Linked DNA regions of Homo sapiens: regions 1, 3 and 4 are each linked to region 2. The links are contacts of gene promoters, found by promoter capture Hi-C in blood cells and fetal thymus (Javierre and others, 2016). All regions are on one chromosome and are shown on one strand. Each heading gives the region's core, a stretch centred on a gene start or on the middle of the fragment in contact. The rest is flanking DNA. Distances are from core to core; before and after follow the strand shown.

What was found. Contacts are between HindIII fragments. The CHiCAGO score rates a contact against its expected background, and 5 or more counts as called.
Region 1: a fragment that was not itself captured here is called in contact with the fragment with the promoter of ODAPH in region 2 in 6 of 17 cell types (naive CD8 T cells, activated CD4 T cells, naive CD4 T cells and 3 more); the score reaches 7.2 in naive CD8 T cells.
Region 3: a fragment that was not itself captured here is called in contact with the fragment with the promoter of ODAPH in region 2 in 8 of 17 cell types (activated CD4 T cells, non-activated CD4 T cells, naive CD8 T cells and 5 more); the score reaches 9.5 in activated CD4 T cells.
Region 4: a fragment that was not itself captured here is called in contact with the fragment with the promoter of ODAPH in region 2 in 8 of 17 cell types (fetal thymus, naive CD4 T cells, activated CD4 T cells and 5 more); the score reaches 8.1 in fetal thymus.

The regions. Positions count from the first base shown.
Region 1 is chr4:75,821,101-75,825,639 of GRCh38, forward strand. LOC105377284 (a long non-coding RNA gene) reads left to right here and starts at 1,417. Exons shown (of 5, transcript XR_938891.2): 1 at 1,417-1,980; 2 at 4,039-4,162. The HindIII fragment of the contact is 3,434 bases long and covers 1-3,115 here.
Region 2 is chr4:75,553,293-75,557,740 of GRCh38, forward strand. It overlaps ODAPH (odontogenesis associated phosphoprotein), which reads left to right and starts at 2,774. Exons shown (of 2, transcript NM_178497.5): 1 at 2,774-2,857. The coding sequence starts at 2,791. RefSeq lists a silencer at 2,507-2,801. The HindIII fragment of the contact is 3,725 bases long and covers 2,610-4,448 here.
Region 3 is chr4:75,868,544-75,872,754 of GRCh38, forward strand. It overlaps PPEF2 (protein phosphatase with EF-hand domain 2), which reads right to left. Exons shown (of 17, transcript NM_006239.3): 13 at 3,482-3,624. Among named protein-coding and RNA genes, the nearest start is that of PPEF2, 32 kb to the right of the region's middle. The HindIII fragment of the contact is 6,486 bases long and covers 1-4,211 here.
Region 4 is chr4:75,849,791-75,854,173 of GRCh38, forward strand. No RefSeq gene overlaps it. Among named protein-coding and RNA genes, the nearest start is that of PPEF2, 50 kb to the right of the region's middle. The HindIII fragment of the contact is 9,603 bases long and covers 1-4,383 here.

The sequences.
Region 1 (4,539 bases), core at 149-2,648, 270 kb after region 2:
GGCCAAGAAAATGTATACATAGTAGTCTCTGAGCCTCCAGACGACATGAAGATACTATGCACTCCGTATTCCTGTATTGTATCACTCTATAAAGTTAACAAATGAAGTATTAGAATGAAGTCTGTTATATCATATGAGTTTTACTGGCAACCAAAACCTGTGACTGGTGCTGATAGGGACAGAATTGTATTTGAAGCAGGATTGGCATTCAGATCCTCAATTTGCATCTTCCTGTTTTATGGTCATAATTGGCTCACAGACCCATTTACTGGCAAACCTATTACTGTCAAAGGGAATGAAACCACCATGATTGCCTTGACTAATTGCAGTTAGTCACTCACGTTCCTGGTGTGTAGTAGGTGAGTGGGCAGCACCTCTTAAAGCACACTTCTCGGGGTGGGTGATAGATACATAAACAAAACAAGGGTTATGTTAGGAAGAAGGAAACCTAAACCCTTGCTCCTACACTTTTAAATTTCTGAGCGAATTACAAAACCTCTAAGAATCTTAGTTTCTTCCTGGAGCTAATTATACCTACCTAATAGGGTTATTGTGAAGATTAAAATTATTGAATTTCTTTTTTCTTTTTTGAGACAGAAGCTCTGTTGCCCAGGCTGGAGTGCAGTGGCACGATCTCGGCTCACTGCAAGCTCCGCCTCCCAGGTTCACGCCATTCTCCTGCTTCAGCCTCCCGAGTAGCTGGGACTACAGGCGCCGGCCACCACGCCTGGCTAATTTTTTGTATTTTTAGTAGAGATGGGGTTTCACCATGTTAACCAGGATGGTTTCGATCTCCTGACCTCGTGATCTGCCCGCCTCAGCCTCCCAAAGTGCTGGGATTACAGGCGTGAGCCACCACGTCTGGCCTAAGAGTGGGTTTCACCATGTTGGCCAGGTTGGTCTCGAACTCCTGACCTCAAGTGATCCACCTGCCTCAGCCTCCCGAAGGGCTGGGATTACAGGCATGAGCCACCACGCCCAGCCTTAAACTTTTAATACACACATAAAAGTCTGCTTAGGCTGAGTTATGCTGTAGAAACAAACAAGTCTTAAATTTCAGTGGCTTACCCAAAGGTACTTCTTGTACACATTCATATCTTTGGCATGCCAGCTGTGGCTCTGCTCCAAATCTTCATTTCAAGACCAACACTGAAGAAGCAGCTTCTGGCTGGGTATAGTGCCTCGTGCCTGTAATCCCAGCACTTTGGGAAGGTGAGGCAGGTGTATCGCTTGAGCCCAGGAATTGGAGACCAGCCTGGCCAACATGGCAAAACCCCCATCTCTACAAAAAAAAAATACAAAAATTAGCCAGGAGTGGTGGCACATGCCGATAGTCCCAGCTACTCAGGAGGCTAAGGTGGGAGGATCGCTTGGGACCAGGAGGCAGAGATTGCAATGAGCAGAGATCGTGCCGTTACATTCCAGCCTGGGCAACAGAGTGAAACCCTGTCTCAAAAAAAAGCAGCAACTTCTCTCTGGGAAAGGCAGGTCTTGTGACAGAGGCAAACGAGAGATGGCAGAATCTCACAGTGGCATTTATAACTTCTGCTTTGAAGTGGCAACATTTCCATTCACATGTCATTGGCCAAAGCAAGTCATGTCCAAACTAATATCAATGCAAAGCATAATCCCATAAGGACACATCTGATATAGAGGGGCAGTGAAAATGTCAACAATAATATAATCTATGAGAGGATACAGAAGCATAACCAGTAAATGTTAGTGTCCTTCCCTTTCCTCTTTTCCCTTACTGGTTCCCCCTGAGAAACACAAGTGTACAGCATGGAGAGGCTGTGTGATGTCATAATTAAGAGTGTAGATTCTGAGAACAGACTGCCTGAGTTCAAATCCTTACTCTGCCATTTTCCAGCTGTGTGGCTTTGGGCAAGTTATTTAACCTCTCTGTGCCTCAACTTCTTCATGTAAACTGGCAGTAATAATAATACGAATGCCACAGAGCTGTGGATGAAATGAGCCCATGTAAGTAAAGTGCATAGTACATGGTAAGCCCTATATGAAAGTGTTAACTTTGTTATTGCTCCTGTCATTATTGAAGGAAACCTGGTGGGAAGTCAAAAGACCTAATATAAAATCTCAGCATTATAATTCTTTTTTTTTTTTTTTAAGATGGAGTCTTGCTCTGTCGCCCAGGCTGAAGTGCAATGGCGTGATCTAGGCTCACTGCAACCTCCTGCTGGGTTCCAGCGATTCTCCTGCCTCAGCCTCCAGAGTAGCTGGGATTACAGGTGCGCGCCACCATGCCCAGCTAATTTTTTTTGTATTTTTAGTAGAGATGGGATTTCACCATGTTGGTCAGGCTGGTCTCGAGCTCCTGACCTTGTGATCCGCCCACCTTGGCCTCCCAAAGTGCTGGGATTACAGGCGTGAGCCAGCGTGCCCGGCTGCATTATAATTCTAATAGTGACTTTGAGCAAGTTACATAATTTCTGCAAACCGCTTATTCCTTCGTCTGTAAAATTAGAATAACACTCATTTCTGGAGAGGCCACTTAGGACAATGGTTAAAAGTATGGACTGTGGAGCTGGAATACCTTGGATCAAATTCCAACTCCACCACTTTCAAACTGTGTGACTTTGGGCAAATTACTTCAATTTTATTATCCATAACACAGGGACAATCATCATACCTTACCTTCACAGGAATAGTATGAGAATTAAGTGGATTAACAGTTGACATGCAACATTGTTAGAATAGTGCCTGGTGCTTAACAAAGGTTCATTAACTGTTTGGCACATAGAGGAAGTGCTTCATAAGTGTTAACTATTCTCACAGGCTATGAGGGGATTGGCTGTATGAACAGGCATGAAAATGCTTTATGAAAAGCAGTGGTCAAACACGGAGACTCAGGAATCTGCAGTATAGAAGTCTATGGCTATGTCGTTAGGCTTAACCAGGCTTAGCATGTCCAGCCAGTGGCAAGCACTTTCTTCTGGAAGCCTGTCTGGTGCAGAGGGACCTCCTTAACTGTTTCCTTTCATGGGGATGGGCCCTGGCTGCTGTGCTTGTACCTTATAACTTGTAGAAGCAAAAGCTGATACTTCACCCTGTTTCCAACATGATTGAGCACTTTACAAATCAAATTCAGGACAAACAAAGCTTTGCACCCTGAGATAAACCAAAACCACCCCGACTAGTTCTGATCTCTAAAATAAGAAAACCTTGACTTATTTCTTGTAAAACTAAACTCCCTAACCAAAATAATTTTACCTCTGATTTTTGCTAAGGAATGTCTGAAGACACATCATAACCTTTGTGACAATGCTAATCATGTGGGAATGGTGCTGTTTCCCCACCACAAGCTGGCCAATGTAACTATTATAATCTTGGTAACTTTGAGGGGTTTTTTTTCCTTTAAATGTTTGTTTGGGGCCGGTCATGGTGACTCATGCCTGTAATCCCAGCACTTTGGGAGGCCAAGGCAGGTTGATCACTTGAGGTCAGGAGTTCAAGACCAGCCTGGCCAACATGGCAAAACCCTGTCTCTACTAACAGTACAAAAATTAGCCGGGTGTGGTGGGGCATGCCTGTAGTCTCAGCTACTTAGGAGGCTGAAGCAAGAGGATTGCTTGAGCCCAGGATTTTGAGGTTACAGTGAGCCATGGTCATGTCACTGCACTCCAGCCTGGAAAACAGTGTGAGACGTTGTCAAAAAAATATATATCTATATATAGATATATATAATATATATATCTATATATAGATATATATAATATATATATCTATATATATAATATATAACATATATTATATATATAATATATAACATATCTATATATAATATATATATCAATATATAATATATATCTATATATATTATATATATTTATATATACACACATATATATAATATATACATATACAATATATGTTTTTGTTTTCTAATTTGAAAAGTCTGTTTTTCCAAAGTCTAACTCCCTCTTTCTTTGTAAGTAAACTCTGTCTTTTGTTTTCTAAAATGTTTCTATCTTGGCTATAGTTGACTAGACGAGGGAAATTCATATCTGTATTCTTTTTCAGTCCGGTCTGGCTTCTTTAACCAGGAAGATGTGGGCTGAGAGCTGTGGAGTAGATGTCTTCACCAGATGAGTACACAGAGAAGTAGAGAATGTGTATCTGCAGAGTAGGATGAAGCAGAGACAAGGTGGGATGGGAGAGAGACAGGGGCTGCAGGACAACCCTACCATCAATACACCCAACAGTCGCCATCCTACCCCACTTATTTATTCACTTAGTAACACTAATTACTCTCTAAAAATACTTGACTATTTATTTGTGTATCTACACCCACAGGAATGGATGTAAGTGCTATGAGGGCAGGAAGATTGTTTTTCCTACCACTGAATTCCCAGGACCTCAATCAATGCTTGGTATATAGTGGGCACTCCATAAACATTGGCCGAATAAATGAATTCTATTTACTTGTTCACAATTGTAGGGGAGGAAAAAATTATGTTCCTTCTATCCATCTTAAATTCATTGGCTGAGGCCCCAGTAAATTAGACTGAATAAAGATAGACT
Region 2 (4,448 bases), core at 1,524-4,023:
ATATAACATACAAAGACATAAGATATGCCGAGACTTAGTTATTCTATACACTAATAACAAAGAAATGTTGGAATTTTCTGCTGGATAAGAATTTGATAAAATTTTTTTAAATTGTGTTCCTTGGCCAGGCGCGGTGGCACACACCTGTAATCCCAGCATTTTGGGAGGTCGAGGTGGGCAGATCACCTGAGGTCAGGCATTCGAGACCAGCCTAGCCAAAATGGTGAAATCCCGTCTCTACCAAAAATACAAAAAAATTAGCTGGGTGTGGTGGCACACCCTCATGCCTCAGCCTCCTGAGTAGCCCTGTAATCCCAGCTACTCGGGAGGCTGAAGCAAGAGAATTGCTTGAGCCCAGGAAGCAGAGGTTGCCGTGAGCCAAATGGTGCCACTGCACTCCAGCCTGGGCAACAGAATGACACTCCATCTCAAAAGAAAAAAAAATGTATTCCTTTTAAAATTTTGTTCCTTTATTTTATAAACTTCAGAACAACAGATTTGAATGAAAAAATAAGTTATTTTGCTTTTGTTATTTATTTTCATCAACATTTAAGATGAAAGCTCATTAGCACTCCAAAACAAAAAAGAAAGAGAATCAGAAGAAGTAATAGAAATGTCCATCAGTTAAAAGTTTGGTTAAATAAATTACAGTAAATCTATAAAATGAAACACCAGGCAGTGGCTGAAGTGATTATGTGAATCTAATTCTATTGGCATTGTGGTGTATTTACAATGCAGGGGACAAAGTAGCATATGTGATACTGACCCGTTGATGTAAAATTACAGACTGTGTTTGTCTGCTTCGTTCTCCCATAGCCTTCAGTCCTTCCCCTCTCTTAGCACTCAAAACGCTTTATTGTTATTCCTGAGTTAATTTTTAATGTCTCCTAAACTATAAGTTCCATGAGAGCAGGAATCTTATCTTTAGCCCCAGCACCTTGACCAGTGTCTGACACTGAATAAATAAAAGTCAATACAGAATTATTGAATGAATGGGTAGTCTAAGGAACTCAATTTGTCCTGGATGTTTCCTGATTCCTTTTCAAACTGCTGACAAATCATCCATCTGATTATCTGTTCTGGAAGTTTGCCTAGGACTAACATCAAGCCTGAGGAACTTTCCATTTTCTATCTGTGAGTGTTTGCATCCTTATTCATTTAGACTTTCAGTTTGCACAGCCTCTCTTGTTAGATTGTCAGTCCTTCAAAGACAGGGACCATGTTTAGTTTGTTCTTTTTTTTTTTTTTTTTTTTTTTCCATGATACCCAGGAAAATGTTCTGCTTAAAGTGGAGGTCTTTCCAGTGATTAACTGATTTGGCAAGTACAGCCTCCTAAGAGAATAAATTATCAGTTGGGATTATTATAATTTAATGACAATCACAAACACTCCCTTTCACAGGCCAGGCACTGTGGTTGGAGCTGTATGTCAATTATCTCCTTGATATGAAACCAACTAAGTGGCCATCGACCAACGAGTGGATAAAGAAAATGTGGTAGAAATACACCATGGAATACTACTCAGCCATAAAAAAATGAAATAATGTCTTTTGCAGCAACTTGGATGGAGCTGGAGGCCATTATTCCAAGTTAAGTAACTCAGGAATGGAAAACCAAATATCGTATGTTCTCACTTATACGTGGGAGCTGAGCTATGAGGACACAAAGACATACAGAATGATATAATGGACTTTAGAGGCTAGGGGTGGGGGAGGTTGGGAAGGAGGTGAGGGATAAAAGACTACATATTGGGTGCAGTGTACACTGCTCGGGTGACGAGTGCACTAAAATCTCAGAGTTCGCCACCATAGAGTCCATCCATGTAACCCAAAACCACTCGTACCCCAAAAGATTGAAATTTAAAAAAAATTTTTTTTAAAAGCATCTCCTTAATTCACAAATTCCTCTGAGGGTAGTACCACAAGTCCCATTTTACAGGTGAGGCCCCTGAGGCTTCAGCAAGTCTCAGGGACTCACCACAGTCACTCAGCTAGTAAGAAAAGGAACAAAGACTGGAATTTTACCTGACTCCAAGGTCCATGTTCTTAATCACCTGTGACAATCCCCTCTCATATATCCAGCAGCTGATGAAGTCTTTCTCTCAGGAAACCAACTGGACATAGACATGTCATGTCCATTTTATATGCAATATGGTGAATCAGGAGGAGCCGTGAAAGGACGACTCACTAAGTTACTCTCCCAATGTTTATGTTTGTTTAGACAGTGACCATCATGACCACTAGGGAAGATCACTTTCTGATTCTGCTGCCCTCACCTCCTGGACAAAAGCAGAGCAGAGAAGCAGCATAAACCCTGGTTGGGGGCCTAAGAATGATCCCCAACTCTCCACTGCAAACCACCGGGGTCAGGAAGCCTCCGGGTAATGCCCTCTCCCTCTTGTTTCGCTTTTTAAGTAGGTAAGCTGCACAGAGAGAAGCACTGTTGCATATTTCTGGACAGCTTATTTCTCTTGCAGAGGAAGACTGATATACACAACTAAAAGGCACTAACATGGGAGAAGATTTGAGAGATTAGAAGGATGGTGAAGGTGCGGTTGTCCAAAATCCCCCTCTGGGGGGAGATGATTGATATCTGGCTGTCATTCCAAGAAGCTTCTGGTTGACAAATACTGTCTGGTATTTCCTTGCTGATTTCTTACCCTCACACCGCAAGCCCTGATCTCTGTGGTCCACTGTGCAAATGCAAATTACCTGAATCAGGCTGCTGGTGACTCACCAGCTCCCCTTTAAAGCAACATCAGGTTCAACGCAGTGACTGCTCAGTAGAAGCCATGGCTCGCAGACACTGCTTCTCCTACTGGTTACTGGTATGCTGGTTGGTGGTAACTGTGGCAGAAGGTAAGGGTTTTGCTTTTATTCTACTGTGGGTCCACTAATTAATAAGTTGTAGGAAAAGACAAAACTGGCTCCATGATTATACGTTCCCATAAATTGGAAATATTTACCTCAGCTTCCATCAGCCTGTGTGGTTAAAGAGAAGGAAGTTGGATTTTGTCACCTGAAGACCTTGGTCCTCGTCTCAGCAATAGCTCTGTGACTTTAGACACACTTAAAATCTCTGAGTATCAGATTCCTCATATGTGAAGTGACAACATTAACAATATCCATCGTTATGGGGTTTGCAAGGACCAAATGAGCTATCATCTGTGAAAAACTCTTCAAGCTAAAAACACTGTACAAATACTAGTTATTATGGTTACAAAGCTAACAATTCCACTTTGAATTACAGCACTGTCCACTTTCTATCTCCAGCAGCATATTAATTTGCACATGGTGGGTATTTAGTCTTTGTTCATTGCTTTAATTAATCACATCTATTGAGCTGCATTTTGGTGCCACAGAGGTGGGCACAGGTTTCTTTCTTTAGGATTTTATTAGATTCCATTTCTCAACTGTTCCTATTCTCTTTCTTTGTTCCCACTACAAAATGTGTCCTGAGCCTTACAATTGGTTTGCAAACCCCTAGGAAAAGGAAAGAAAAGGCTGGGGAAGGGATGAAAAGAGGGAAATACAAGGGGAGGAAATCTTGGGGAGCCTAGATCTAACCTTTTCTTCAGTTTATTTTAATTCCAAAACTAGATGCTGTTTACGGAAGATGGACCTAGGAGTCAAACAGAGCACTTCACCCCTTTCACATGTCTTGGGTAGGGGGCTTTGCAGGGGCTCAGCCAAACCCTGCTCATCCCCAGACAGATTCCCCGTTCCCATCCCTCAGAGCTCACAATAGACAGGAGGAGGGGAGAGACATAAGAGCTGGTTGTGGAACACTCAGAAACCCCCTGATCCAACCTCTGCACACACTCTGGCAATCAGGGGACAGGGCATAGATTATGAACAAAACCTGCCCCCATATCCCAAGGCAAGGCCCCCAAGCCTCACCTACTAAAAGTGACATCTAAAAGAAGCATCATAAAACAAAACTAGCCACCTGCCACTTTCTCTGCAAAAAGTGAACCGCTCTTCAGGAGGCTTTGTAAACACATAGCTAAACAAGTTATAATGAGATTAGAGATTTATTTTATTCACATCTTAAAAACACCCACTGAGGCTGGGTACAGTGGCTCACACCTGTAATCCCAGCATTTTGGGAGGCCGAGGTGGGCAGATCACCTGAGGTCGGGAGTTCAAAACCAGCCTGACCAACATGGAGAAACCCCATCTCTACAAAAAATACAAAATTAGCCAGGTGTGGTGGTGCATGCCTGTAATCCCAGCTACTCGGGAGGCTGAGGCAGGAGAATCGCTTGAACCCAGGAGGTGGAGGTTGCCATGAGCCAAGATCGTGCCATTGCACTCCAGCCTGGGGAACAAGAGTGAAACTCTGTCTCAAAAAACAAAACACCCATTGAAACACCAGATTTGATTTCCGAATTTGGCTCACTTTTCCCTACAATCCCTCGAAGTCCTTCAAATGTAGCTTCATTCTATC
Region 3 (4,211 bases), core at 578-3,077, 310 kb after region 2:
AACCTAGCCTGGCATGGTGGCACGTGCCTATGGTCCCAGCTACTTGGGAAGCTAAGGTGGGGAAATCACCTGAGCCTGGGAGGTCGAGGCTGCAGTGAGCCAAGATCATGCCACTGCACTCCAGCCTGGACAACCAGAATGAGACCCTGTCTCAAAAAACACAAAAAACTGTGAACCAGTTAGGCATGGTGGCTCATGCCTATAATCCCAGCACTTTGGGAGGCTGAAGCGGGAGGATCACTTGAGGCCAGGAGCTCAAGACCACCCTGGGCAACACAGCTAGGCTGGGTTTCTTTACAAAAAAAACTTTTAAAAATTAGCCAGGCATGGTGGTGCATGCCTGTAATCTCAGTTACTTGGGAGACTATGGCAGGAGGATTGCTTGAGCCCAGGAGTTCGAGGTTACAGTAAGCTATCTATGATCATGCTACTATACCCTGGCCTTGGTGACAGAGCAAGGCCCTGTCTCTACAAAAGGAAAAGAAAGTGTGAACCACCTAAAACTCACCCCAAATTTCACAGGTATGTGAGCATATGTGAATTTTTTGTAGACAGTTTGTTGTTTTATCAGAGGCTAACAGAAGTATGGGACTCCTAAAAAGTTTAAGAACCACTAGTTAGACAAAGCATTTAAGCTGCTCCTGGTAATCTGTAGTCATGGAGAGTTATGCAGGGATGGAGTAGGGCAATGCCCTTGAAAGCTATCTGGATGTACAAGGCTTTCCTGTCCCTACGTCAAGTAACACTTAGTAAGCACTTACTAAATGCAGAGCTCTACATGGATTATCTCATTAAATCCCTCAACACTCATTGAAGAAAGAACGATAACATGAAGTCCATTATGCCCATTACAGACAGAGATAGTAATTAGGTCGAGGTCACATAGCTACCAAGGAGTGAGGCCAGATACCTATCTGGCTATGCTGGCTCCAAGCTGGCTCTCTATTATTGTGAGAAGTGGATTGAAACAAAAAGTAAATGGACTCTGACTGAGGATTCCTCTAAGAAGAGCATGTTATCAGGCCAGGCATGGTGGCTCGCACCTGTAATCCTAGCACTTTGGGAGGCCAAGGCAGGAGGATCACTTGAGCTCAGGAGTTTGAGACCAGCCTGGGCAGAATAGTGAGACTTCGTCTCTACAAAAAATTTAAAAAATTAGCTGGGCATGATGGCGCACGCCTGTAGTACCAGGTGTGAGGTAGCTGAAGTGGGAGGATCTCTTAAGACTAGCAGGTCGAGGCTGCAGTGATCTGTCATCCTGCCACTGTACTACAGCCTGGGTGACACAGCGAGACCCTGTCTCACAAAAAGAAAAAAAAAAAGAAAAAAGAAAAACAAGGATGTTATCTTCGGTTTATGGACATTGAGACATCATCAATTATGGCTGCTCAGAGACATTTCCCTCCTTTTTTCTAAGTTCTCCATTATGCTTCATACAGTTGAAGTCACTGGATAAGTGATTTCTGGGTAAATCAGGTGATGTTGTACTTATTTAATGCAATCAATGAAGGTTTCAAAGAGTTGAATGCTTTTTGACTATCTTATTGAAACACACTATTCACTGTAGGGAATCCTACATTACTATTACATTACTACATTACTATTACTACTGTAGGGAATCCTAGAGTGACTCTTTTTGCAGTGACAACCCCTAAATCCTATGGGATCATAGTTCTGCACTCCAGGTACCAGGGCTCACCCCTGGAGATTCTAATTTGGTAGGGCTGGATGAGGCTCAAATGGCTGATTTTTTATAAAGCTCCAAGATGATTTTGCTGCACAGTAGGTCTGACATTCACTTGGTAGGTTTATATTTTTACATAATTCTTCTTTTTAAGTGAGGCTGGCCTATATTTAATAACTTGAGAATGATTTAAAATAATGCACTTTTACAGCACTCACACAAGGGTAAATGCTAAATACTAACATGTTCTCTATCCACCTGATTTATGCTAGTTTTGCCGATCTTAATTTCTAACTCTGTTAGGCTGAATACTTAAAGAAGCATGTTCAATAGCACTAAAACTGTATCTGTTAGCATCTTATATACTCTGAGGCCATCTTCGTTGTAGGAGGCAATATTGCATAGACATTAAAAGTGTGGGTTCTGAAATAGAATTGCCTCGGTCAAGGACTACCTTCACTCAAGGACTAGCTGTGTGACCACAGGTCAGATGATTTAACATCGGTTCTTTAATAATCTCTTCTACAAAACTGAAATTAATAACAATATCTGTTGCATAAATTTACTGTGAGGCTACCCATATAAATTCTTTATAACATTTTGTGGTTGTAATCTCTCAACTAAGAACTCAGAATCATCTCAAAAGCTACCATTTATTTATTTATTTATTTATTTATTTTTATTTTACTTTATTTTATTTTATTTTTGAGATGGAGGCTTGCTCTGTCGCCCAGGCTGGAGTGCAGTGGTGCGATCTCGGGTCACTGCAACCTCCAACCTCCTGGGTTCCAGCAATTCTCCTGCCTCAGCTTCCCGTGTAGCTGGGATTACAGGCGTGTACCACCACGCCTGGCTAATTTTTTTGTATTTTTAGTAGAGACAGGGTTTCACCATGTTGGCCAGGCCAGTCTCAAACTCCTGACCTCCAATCATCCACCCGCCTCAGCCTCCCAAAGTGCTGGGATTACAGGCGTGAGCCACCGCGCCCGGCCAAAATCTACCATTCGAGTAGTATTATATGCTTCCTTCCAGAAAGAAACGGGCCTCATTAACAAATCTGTGCACTGAATTTCACCTGCAAAATCTCCAGACAGTGAAAGAACCTCTGGCTGTGGCTTGTAGGGGTAACACAAACCCGTTAAAGATGAGAGAAAATAGAAGAGTAACCTCAGAAAGACTTAGTGGTTTAGTAAGCAGACTTTACCCAAGACGCAGCCATGGAGAATAATTTCTTCTTCTTCTTTTTGTTTTTCTTGTTTTTTTGAGACAGCCTTGCTCTGTCACCCAGGCTGGAGGGCAGTGGCACAATCTTGGCTCACTGCAAACTCTACCTCCCAAGCTCAAGCCATCCTCCCACCTCAGCCTCCCAAGTAGCTGGGACTACAAGAGTACGCCACCACATCAGGCTAATTTTTGAATTTTTTGTAGAGATGGGGTTTTGCCATGTTGCCCAGGCTGGTCTGGAATTCCTGGGCTCAAACTATCCTTCTGCCTTAGTCTGCCAGACTGCTGGGATTACAGGCATGAGCCACTGTGCCCCACTGAGAATAATTTCTGCAGAAAACAAATTTGTTGCTCCCATTAATGATGGGTAGATAGAGCTATTAGGAGTGTGTGGAGGAGAAGGAAGAGACTCCTACTCTAATGTCTATTGTATTAATAGAACTTCATGCTGACATAGCCAAATTCTGAATTCTCACGTAGAATTTGAATAAATATAACGTTTGACACTTCATTCAAAGATTCTATGAACACTATAATTTTTTTTTCTGAAAATCACTCATTGAAAAGTCTTGCCTTTGCCTCATGGTGAGTGTGTGGGTCACCTTGTTAGCTTGATACTGCACAATATGTGGGGTCAGGGCTGGCCCCAGTTTGACATAGGCCCCTCTGTTGCTGCCAACTTCATAGTAGTTGGAGGCAGAAAAGATTGTTAATACCTACATCAAAACAGAAGAGAGACAGGTGTTCACATTCACTGAAGAAACCTTCACCCTCAATCCTATGTGGCCCAACTCAACTGCAGAAGCTGCTGTTTCTCCTAGTGCTCATCTGGGAATCCTTTTCTTTCTTTCTTTCTTTCTTTTTTTCTAAAGGCATCAATGCTAATAGGGCAAGAGTTGTGACTCAAGTCATAGAAATTTGAATTCCGATAGTTTCACAATGTATCTTCTTCACATTTTTATCCCAAGTGAAAATAGCAAGGGTCATAGAAAACACCATATTTGCTTCAACTTAGAGGCAAGCTGGGTCTGATAAACCAGGATGGCCATTACAATGAGCAAGAAGATGAGTTCTGAGAGCTGATGTGGTGCCTTAAAGCAGTTTTCTACGGAATGTTGTGGCTCCTCAGATGGTGTATGAAAAAAGTTTTCACAGTCAATACGTTGGGAAATGCTAGATACTGTATCTCTTCCTGAGGATTTACAGTGGTAGGAAACTAAAGGTACTCAGAAGTCCTGCAATAAAGAAACTTGTACAATATAACCAGTGGTATTAGGTGAGACAAATATTGTAGGATTTGGAG
Region 4 (4,383 bases), core at 1,449-3,948, 300 kb after region 2:
AGGGGAAACAGAATGTGAGAGGAGTGGTGTGTTTGCAGGCTGCAGGAAGATCCAAGTGTCTAGAAAGAGTTTTGAGACTGCACATATGGCACAGGCTGGGTCACAGAGTTTGTACTTTATCTGCAAGACAAAGAGATTTTCAAACTCTAGATAATTTTATTTTAAAAGAAAACACGGCCGGGCTCAGTGGCTTACGCCTGTAATCCCAGCACTTTTGGAGGCTGAGGTGGGCGGATCGCTTGAGGTCTGGAGTTCGAGACCAGCCACAACATAGCGAAACCCTGTCTCTACTAAAAATACTAAAATTAGCCAGGTGTGATGGCACACGCCTGTAATCTCAGCTACTCAGGAGGCTGAGGCAGGAGAATCGCTTGAACCCGGGAGGCGGAGGTTGCAGTGAGCTGAGATCACACCACTGCACTCCAGCCTGGGAAACAGATTGAGACTCCGTCCTCCGTCTCAAAAAAAAAAAAAAAAAAAAAAAAAAAAAAAAAAGATAGTATTACCTCAATACTGTAATAGAGAAATCAATATCATTTGCCATAAATAGAACCATAAAAATTAATTTACAGAACAGAAAAAAAAAACCAAGTGTGTTTAAAACAGTTCAAAAATTAAAATGAAATCTAGGCCGGGTGCAGTGGCTCACGCCTGTAATCCCTGCACTCTGGGAGGCCGAGGTGGGCGGATCACCTGAGGTGAGGAGTTCGAGACCAGTCTGGCCAACATGGTGAAACTCCATCTCTACTAAAAATACAAAAATTAGCCAGGCGTGGTGGCAGGCGCCTGTAATCCCAGCTACTCGGGAGCTCTGAACCCGGGAGGCGGAGGCTGCAGTAAGCCGAGTTTGCACCATTGCACTCCAGCCTGGGGGACAAGAGCGAGACTTTGTCTTTAAAAAAAGAGTTAAAAAAATTAAAATGAAATCTAATAACTAATCTGTTTACAAAAAAATCATGTCTAAAATTATCTTCATCTGTGAGAAAAATAAACCAGTTTATGATCAATCAATAGTAATAAAGAGATTCAGCTCTGTATCATTTAGTTTAAGACTAAGATGAGGGTTATGTCAATGACAATTCTGTGTCTTTTTGTGTATGTTAATCAGCATCTCCCCCACCCATCCCCCCACGCCCCCAGAAATCTCGACACACTGATGTAGGTAGGTAGAGCTTCCCCCTGCTCCTGAAAAGCAGAGTCGCAGAAGCTCAGGGTGGCCACTGTAGCTCAGATAACCTAGATCCTACAGCCAGGAACTGAAATCCAAATCTTCTGACTCCACATTCTTATACCAGGCCGATGCCTGGTATAAAAGTTAACAGAAAAAAACCTTTCTAATTCATATATCTCTCCACATACAGAACTAGGCTGCCTGTAGGAGCAGTGACCTCTACCCTGGAGCATTTCCACAAAGCCTGGAGGACACGTGTATCTTTCGAGGTTTTTCTCCAGAGAAATGCTTTAGAGGTTGTACTTAATATCTGAAATTCCTTATAATTCTTAACAGTCTCTGAGTCTGTGACTGAGAAATATTTCAAGACACTAACACAGGGATTAAAAACTTTATCCCTTTGTTTTAATAATTAAAATGCAGACTAAAGGAGGTTTTGAGTTCTATAGAAATAAACACTCAAATTTAAAATAATGGTCTTTATGGCTGAACACAGTAGCTCATGCCTGTAATCCCAGCACTTTGGGAGGCTGAGGCGGGTAGATCACCTGACGTTAGGAATTCGAGACCGGCCTGACCAACATGGTGAAACCCCATCCCTACTAAAAGTACAAATAAAGTAGCTGGGTGTGGTGGTGGGTGCCTGTAATCTCAGCTACTCAGGAAGCTGAGGCAGGAGAATCGCTTGAACCCGGGAGGCAGAGGTTGCAGTGAGCTGAGACTGTGCCATTGCACTCCAGCCTGGGCGACAGAGCAAAACTCTATCTCAAATAAATAAGTAAACAAAATAAAATAATGGTCTTTAGAGATTTATGAAACCCTAATTATGTCTGCATGTGAGTTCTATGTCCAGCATTAGTAATAATTGTTTTTTTAAAAAAACAAAACAAGGCCGGGCACGGTGGCTCACAGCTGTAATCCCAGCACTTTGGGAGGCCAAGGCGGGTGGATCACCTGAGGTTGGGAGTTCGAGACCAGCCTGACCAACATGGAGAAACCCCATCTCTATTAAAAATACAAAATTAGCTGGGCATGGTGACACATGCCTGTAAACCCAATTACTCAGGAGGCTGAGGCAGGAGGGAGAATCGCTTGAATCCGGGAGGTGGAGGTTGCAGTGAGCCAAGATCGGGCCATTGCACTCCAGCCTGGGCAAAAAGAGCGAAAACTGTCTCAATAAATAAATAAATAAATAAATAACCAAAACCTAAAACACTTATTTACAACTTGAAGACATGTCAAAAATGCTAAAACAGAGAAATTCTTTTATGACTATTAGCATTTTCTCAGAAAAGATCGTTTCTGGGAAGTATGAGCCCTTCCTGAAATTATCCTTCTATTTTGATTAATACAACTAAACTTTAATTCCTTGGATTGTCAATGTTTTGAGTTATCTACTGCTACATAACAAATACCTCAAAAGTTAGTGGTTTAAAACAACAATAACCACCTATGATATTTCACAATTCTGTGAGTTAACTGGGGTGATTCTTCTGCTCCATGTGTTATCAGCTGGCCTCCCAAAGTGCCAGACATGAGCCACTATGCCTTGCCATTCTCAGTTTTAATTTCTAATACAGTAAATATCAATAGATATAAGCCACATCAGCAAAAGTTCTTTGGGATCGTCAGTACTTTTTGGGAGTATAAAAGGATCCTGAGATGAAAACATTTGAGAAGCCCTTCAATAGAGGCAAAAGAAGAATTGGGGACACGTGAGAAATAGTATGGACTAATAAATAACTGGACTAATGATTTTAAGGTGGTAGCAATGGGGAGTAAAAACGGCTCAATTTTAGATGTGTTTTGAAGGGAAAGTCAACAAGATCGATCAGATGTGGGAAATGAGGAGAGAAGTCAAGTATTATTCCAAGGGTTTTGTTTTAGTTTTTGCTTTGTCTTTCACCTGAGTGAACTGGTAGGATGGCATTGATATTTAATTAGAAAAGACCAGGGAAGAAGAGATGTAGGGGAAATATAGTGAACTTATTTGGAGAATGTTGAGTTTGAGATGTTCATTAAATATTTAAGTGTTAGGGGAGTTGTCTCGGGTGGAGATATAACCTTCAGAGTCTTAACCATATGGATTGCATTTAAAACAATGAGACTGAATGAGATCGGCCGGGTGTGTTGGCTCATGCCTGTCATCCCAGCACTTTGGGAGGCCGAGGTGGGCGGATCACGAGGTCAGCAGATCGAGACCATCGTGGCTAACACGGTGAAACCCCGTCTCTACTAAAAATACAAAAAATTAGCTAGGCGTGGTGACGGTCACCTGTAATCCCAGCTACTCGGGAGGCTGAGGCAGGAGAATGGCTTGAACCCGGGAGGCGGAGCCTGCAATGAGCCGAGATTGCGCCACTGCACTCCAGCCTGGGCGACAGAGCGAGACTCAGTCTCAAAAAAAAAAAAGAGACTGGATGAGATCAACAAAGGAGTGAATGAAGATAGAAGAAAAAAGAGGTTGAAAAACAGCCTGGCAGGGCGCGGTGGCTCACGCCTGTAATTCCAGCACTTTGGGAGGCCAAGGTCGGTGGATCATCTGAGGTCGGGAGTTCAAGACTAGCCTAGTCAACATGGTGAAACCCTCGTCTCTACTAAAAATACAAAAATTAGCCGGGCACAGTGGCACGCATCTGTAATCCCAGCTACTCAGGAGGCTGAGGCAGGAGAATCGCTTGAAGCTGGGAGGCGGAAGTTGCAGTGAGCTGAGACTGAGAAAGCTGTCAGGTAGTTAAAAAAAAAAAAAAGGAGAGAATGGTAATTTGAACTGTCAAATGCTACTGATAGGTCAAGTAAGATAAAGACAAATAGATCATTGGTATCTGAGGGACTGTGTGCCAGAGAGGGGAATAATGTGAGCAAAAAGCCCAAATCAGGAGCAGTGTGTTGTGCTAGAGCATAAGGGGCAGGGATGAGATGGGAGCGCAGGCAGGAGTCAGCTTGTGAAGGGCCTGGCATTCCATATTAAAGACTTAGACTTTATGCTGTGGGTTTGGGGAAGCCACTTAGAGGATTTAGGCTGAAAAGTGACACAGTCCAATTTGCATTTTAGATAGATCATTCTGGATGCTTGGGAAGGGTGGGGAGGATAGAGGATGGGACTGAGCCAAACCGAGCAAGGGGCTCAAGGAAGTGGAGGCTGTAATAGGAGAGGGCCAGAGACAGTGAAGGTGTGCATTTCAGCCATGGATGTGGGGATGGAGAAGAGA